2 separate regions of the Homo sapiens genome follow, and region 1 is linked to region 2. Evidence: promoter capture Hi-C in 16 types of primary human blood cells and fetal thymus (Javierre and others, 2016). All regions are on one chromosome and are shown on one strand. Each heading gives the region's core, a stretch centred on a gene start or on the middle of the fragment in contact. The rest is flanking DNA. Distances are from core to core; before and after follow the strand shown. Region 1 has its middle 20 kb from the start of CLEC3A. Region 2 holds the start of VAT1L (vesicle amine transport 1 like).

The links. The method cuts DNA at HindIII sites, captures the fragments that hold promoters and counts their contacts. A CHiCAGO score of 5 or more calls a contact.
Region 1: a contact is called between a fragment that was not itself captured here and the fragment with the promoter of VAT1L in region 2, in 3 of 17 cell types (M0 macrophages, M2 macrophages and endothelial precursors). The highest score is 6.6, in M0 macrophages.

What each region holds. Positions count from the first base shown.
Region 1 is chr16:78,001,075-78,003,774 of GRCh38, reverse strand. No RefSeq gene overlaps it. Among named protein-coding and RNA genes, the nearest start is that of CLEC3A, 20 kb to the left of the region's middle. RefSeq lists a silencer at 545-744. The HindIII fragment of the contact is 778 bases long and covers 891-1,668 here.
Region 2 is chr16:77,787,142-77,789,841 of GRCh38, reverse strand. VAT1L (vesicle amine transport 1 like) reads right to left here and starts at 1,278. Exons shown (of 9, transcript NM_020927.3): 1 at 927-1,278. The coding sequence starts at 1,159. The region is part of intron 1 of LOC107984878 (a long non-coding RNA gene); the gene reads left to right. The HindIII fragment of the contact is 9,864 bases long and covers 1-2,700 here.

The DNA.
Region 1 (2,700 bases), core at 30-2,529, 210 kb before region 2:
GACCACAAACTCTGAGGCTTGTTTATGATATGATCATATTCATGATGAGTTTCTACAGGTCAAGAGTCTGGGCTTAGCTTATCCCCTGCTCAGTTTCGCTCAGTCGTCCAGGCTGGAGTGCAGTGGAGTGATCTCAGCTCACTGGAACCTCTGCATCCCAGGGTCAAGTGAGTCTCGTGCCTCAGCCTCCCGAGTAGCTGAGATTACAGGCATGCACCACCACGCCTGGCTAATTTTTGCATTTGTAGTAGAGAGGGGGTTACACCATGTTGGCCAGGCTGGCCTTGAACTCCTGGCCTCAAGCAGTCCTCCCCTGCTTTGGGCTCCCAAAGGGCTGGGATTACAGGAGTGACCCACTGCGCCTGGCTGAGAAAAGGATATTTTAAGCGAGTTATCAGAGTTGATGCAGAACCCTGTGTAAGCCATACTCCCTGCCTCCAGGCCTCAGTTTCACCATTGGGAATGATTTAACTAATGCCAGCACATTCCTTTCAGCGCTATAAGACGAAGTCGTTGTTACCTCCATAGCCCAGCAAATTGCCTGGCAACATTACAGGAGCTAGACAAATGTCCGCTGGATCAACCAATGAGAGTGGAGTGGAAATTAAGATAAATTAGCTGTGTGTCCCGGACTGACCACTAGGTGGCAGGAGGCTGACGCCAAGTCCAAGCTTGGTACCCGGTTGCTGGCTGGCTGGGAGCCTTCTGGGAGGAGCCTTGAATGTCCTTTTAGGCTGGGGCTTGTCATGGCGGCGGAAGAGGGGGAAGGGAGGGAGGCAGAAGGTGAGGTCTCTTTCACAAAAGGTCTGACACTTAGACTTTCCCCTTTATCCTCAAATGAATTTATTTCCATTGCCATAGAAATTCACAGATAGGATTGAGAAAAAGCTTTTCATGCAACTGTAGATCTGTATATTTTTATAAATTTAGCATCTAATTTTTAAAAATATATTGGAACATCTTAGTTGCAAGCTCTTTCTCCCCTTCCCATGAGCCATCCCACACTCCTGACCTACAGACCCAGGTATAGAACAGGGCCTCCCCTGTCATGGTGAGATGACACTGGGCTGTGCAGTCTCAGATCATTTCCATCACAGGAGAGGCCCGGGTCCTAACCAGCACTTTTCAAAATGCAGCAGAATCGCCTGGGGCTGCTGTACATAAAAATGCAGATTCCTAGGCAATGGCAGTCTCCGTAGATCAGAATCTCTGGGAGGGCTTTAGTCTGCAATTGTGTTGGCTTTTCACAAGTCTCCTAGGATTCTGAGGTACAACTGAAGTTTGAGAAACACTCCCTTAGGCTTTCTGGGGAGCCTTTCTGGGGCTCTCATCAGCCCTCTTGGAGGTCCAGAGATGCTCCAGCTACCTCCAGCTTCACACACACACACACACACACACACACACACACACACACACACACGTGCATACACGTGCATATGTACATACACATATGTTTTTTGTTTTCTGGATTACGTGCACAATGATGCATGTACATTCTACAAATCCATAGATTATAAAAGCAAATAATGTAGGAAATAGAAATCCTCTATGATATTGTAGACCGGAGAGAGCTGCTGTTGGTAATTGCTATTTTAACTGCCTCCAATCCTGATGCATCCCCTATTTAGGTACTAAAAATGTAGCAGAGTTTTTTCTCCCAGGAAAGCTTCATAAAAGCAAAATAGGGTGCCCACCCTCATCTAACAAATAACTCATGGCTTCTTTATGACCAAATACGTTTTTTTTTCCCCTCCTGGAGAAATCAAATGTCAATGTGGACCTGTAGCACTATGACATCAAATTCTCTACTCCTGAAGGTGAAGGGCAGGGCTCCTGTACTTGTTTCAGGATTTTTTAAGGAGGTGCAACAGGATTTGCACTGCAGGCTCAGTGACTTAGCTATCACATTAGCATGTGTTATTGGGAAACAGTCCAGAGTCCAAGTTCAAGGATTTCTTACAACTTTTGTTTTTACTTTATAGTGAAGTTTAAAGTTTTTGAAATATGTACTTGTCACTGTAATCTTTTGAGACTTCCTTTTCTTACTGAGGTTAAAATTGTCCAGCTATGCTAATGAGTTGATGGTATGTGAGCTCTATGAGCCAAACACTAAGCTAAATGCTTTATGTATATGATCTTAATTCTCTTGATAGCCCAACAGACTGATGGCTGTTATCCTCACTCTATTTATAAGGAAAGTGGTGTGGTTACGTGAGGTTATGACAAGCCTGCCCGAGGACCTACAGATCGTAAATCAGCAGTAAGGCCAGGATTTATAAAATCCTTGTAGTTTGACTATAGAGCCATGTCCTTAATCGCTATAATATAGTGGCCATTCAACTTTTTCTGTGACTTGGCCATGAAGAATCATGGTAAATATTTGCTATTCTTCCTAAGGGAGAATTGGCAGCTTTGCTCATTCTATACGATTTCTTGTTTTATTCTCTTGACAATATTGCAAGGTGGTTTAAGCTCCTCCCATTTTGCTGTTCTACAAAATGCAAAGAACATGAGAAAAACCTCCACTGGACTAGATGATCCTAGGTCAGGGTTCCCCAGAGTGTGTTCCCCAGAATTCTGATAAAAGCCTCCATGGGAACTGAGTATTAGAACTCATCTCGGAAGGTCACAGGGCAGCTACTAGTGAGGAAAGGCTCTAAGAAGGTCTGTCATTAAAAGAAAATATTTGGTACCATTAGC
Region 2 (2,700 bases), core at 29-2,528:
CTTAAACTCTCCCCGGGAATTTCAGCTGAGCGTGAGGGCCTGGAGAAGTTCCCCCAGGGGGAATGGGGAATAGAGGGCAGCTTAGAGAGCTGAGCTCCTTCTGAGATGGGACCAGGAATTCCGGGGAGACTGATCAGGGTTTTTTCCCCTCTCGGAGAAACAGAGGATGGAGAGGGGCATGGAGGGGGTTGCGCTGCAGCCCTGGTCTCCACCCTCACCAAGCCTGGGTGCAAGGTACCGACCCTCTTCCTTCCTAGTTCCTTTCCCCGTCAGGCTACGGGGAAGGAAGTGGGCAGGAGGCGGGATCCAGCCCTGCACCCTGTCCCAGGCCCTTCAGGACAACAGCATAGAGGTGAAAAAAGATCATGTATCAAATTCCCGGCCAAGCCACTTAGTGGCAGCTGACTGATCTTGGGCAAATCACTCATTCTCGCTGAGCGGCGGCTTTCTTACCTGTAAACGGATCATGATGGCACCTGACTCATTAGGTCCCAGGAAGTATTAAATAAGATCGCACGTGTAAAACTACCAACGGCGGCTGGCACACAGTGGGCTTGCGGTTCTTAATACATATATTTTTAATTCTGTTAAGCATCAACCCTCCCGTGCGAAAGCTGAGTTGTCCTCTCAGACGGAGAACTCCCGTAGCGCAATCTTCCAGACCCGGGGTGCCTGGGCGCCAGCATTCTCCCCGCGCCCAGGAGCTCACATTCTCCTCCCGTCACCCCTAGATCTGGCTTGGGGAGGCCGCCCCTCTGCATCCTCCCCAGCTTTGGCCCGGGGAGGCTCTGAGACCCGGGTGAGGGCGCGGAGGGGGTGCGCGCGGCGGTTCTACCCGGGCAGCATCCCAGCCGCAGCTTTCCCACCCCCTCCCCAGCGCCCAGCGCGCAAAAAGAGAGAAAGCGAGAAAGGCGCGGATACTGGACCAGGCTTTGACGCGGATCTTGAGCTCGCCGTCCTGAGGCTCGGGCATGGCCTTCCTGAAGAGCCGCAGCTTGTTGAGCCCCCCGAAGCCAGCCAGCACCACCGCGCGCATCTCCTGGGCGTCCCCGAGGCGGTGCGAGCCGTCGCCGCCGCCGCCCTCCGCCGGCTCCTTGCCTGCCTCCTTCTCGATCATTTGCTCCGTCTCCTCCGCCTTCTCCACGCCTTCCTTGGCCATGGCGCTCGAGGGCGCGGGGCGCACGGGCTGCGGTGGCTGCGGTGGCTGCGGCGCTGGGGGAGTGGGGCTCCTCTCCCGCGGGTTCCTCCTGTTGAATGTGGGATGCTCGGCTGTGCAATGGCTGCAGCCTCTGCGAGCGCCGCCGCGGTCCACAGCCTCCGCCGTAATCCTCACAAGAGCCGTGCCCTAAGCGCTTCACCCCCGCCCCACCCTTCTTTCCTGTCCCAACGAAGCCTCAACTCCAGTTCCTGAAATAGTCCCAAGTTAGGGTCGGGATCGCGGCCCTAAACCCAAATTTGCCGAAGATCTGTGACTAAAACGAGCCTAGAGAGACCACCCTGTCATCCCCCTTCCTGTGGGCCCAGTACTTGGTTATATACGGCACAGGCTCGGGTGCCTTGAAATGGACCGAGACTAATGTCTGGGCCTGGAGGATGCCTTACCGCGACAAGGTTGCCCTCTCTCCCTCCCATCTTCGAGGCTGGGCGGGATAGTCGGGAAATTGGGTCGTTTCTCAAACAGCCAGTTTTGGGTGGAAGGGCGGAGAGGTTTGGGAAGCAGGGAACTAGAGATCCCGCTCACTGCCCTGAAGAGTCCAGTGCAGGGTCTTTTCACTCCAGACCTGCAGGGTCAGCCGGGATGCTCTTTGCTGGGTATCACCAGGGGCTTCCTTACGACGGCGAATTCTCACCACCCACACCATTTCGGGCTATTAAAGAGGCTTCAGACAAGAATCCTGTACCAGAAAGGATCCTGTTCGTGTTCTGATCCCCGGAAGACCAGTGTGTACCCGCTCCCCAACATGCATGCACATACACAGAGTAGTAACTGGCGTTTTGTTTTGTTATCAGGCTCTTTGAGAAAAACAGCTCATAGAAAAACTTGGAATTTCTGAAATAAAATAATGGGGAAGGACGTGGTTTTCCTAGGGGCAGTTTAAGGAAAGAGATGCAGGTGAGGAAGTAGGTCTATATTCTATTATAGTTGCTATGCCATTGCCAGCCTTGAGATCTTGGGCAACTCATTCAACCTTCCTGAGCCTCAACACACTCATCTATAAATTGGGTACATTGATTTTTTTTTCTATATTGTGTGAAGTGCTGGGGTGGACATGATTTCAGTGAGACATGGTCCTTATATTGGAAAAGGTCAATTTCAGAGCATGAGGCATGAAGGACACAGTCAACAAATGTGGTACAATGAATGATGTAAGTGCTGCCTCTTCTCTCCCCTCATTCTTCCTGTGCCTCACTGCTTTAAATGCCCTTGTCTTCTATTCCTTAAAAAAAAAAAAAAAAAAAAAAAAGACGATTGCCATTTTCCCTCCTTCCACAGGGTTCTGCACCTGCTGTCCCCTTGGCCTGGGGTATGTGTTCCATCTCCTTTATCTGGTGTTAACTCCTACTTCGTTCTCACCTCAAGGGTCCATTCCTGTTGGGAGGCACTCCAACCTCCAGATTGGTGTCCTCCCTGACTATAGACACTTATGTCCCTTTGTAGCCAACTTTTATATGTTTACCTGATAATATCTGTTTCCTTTA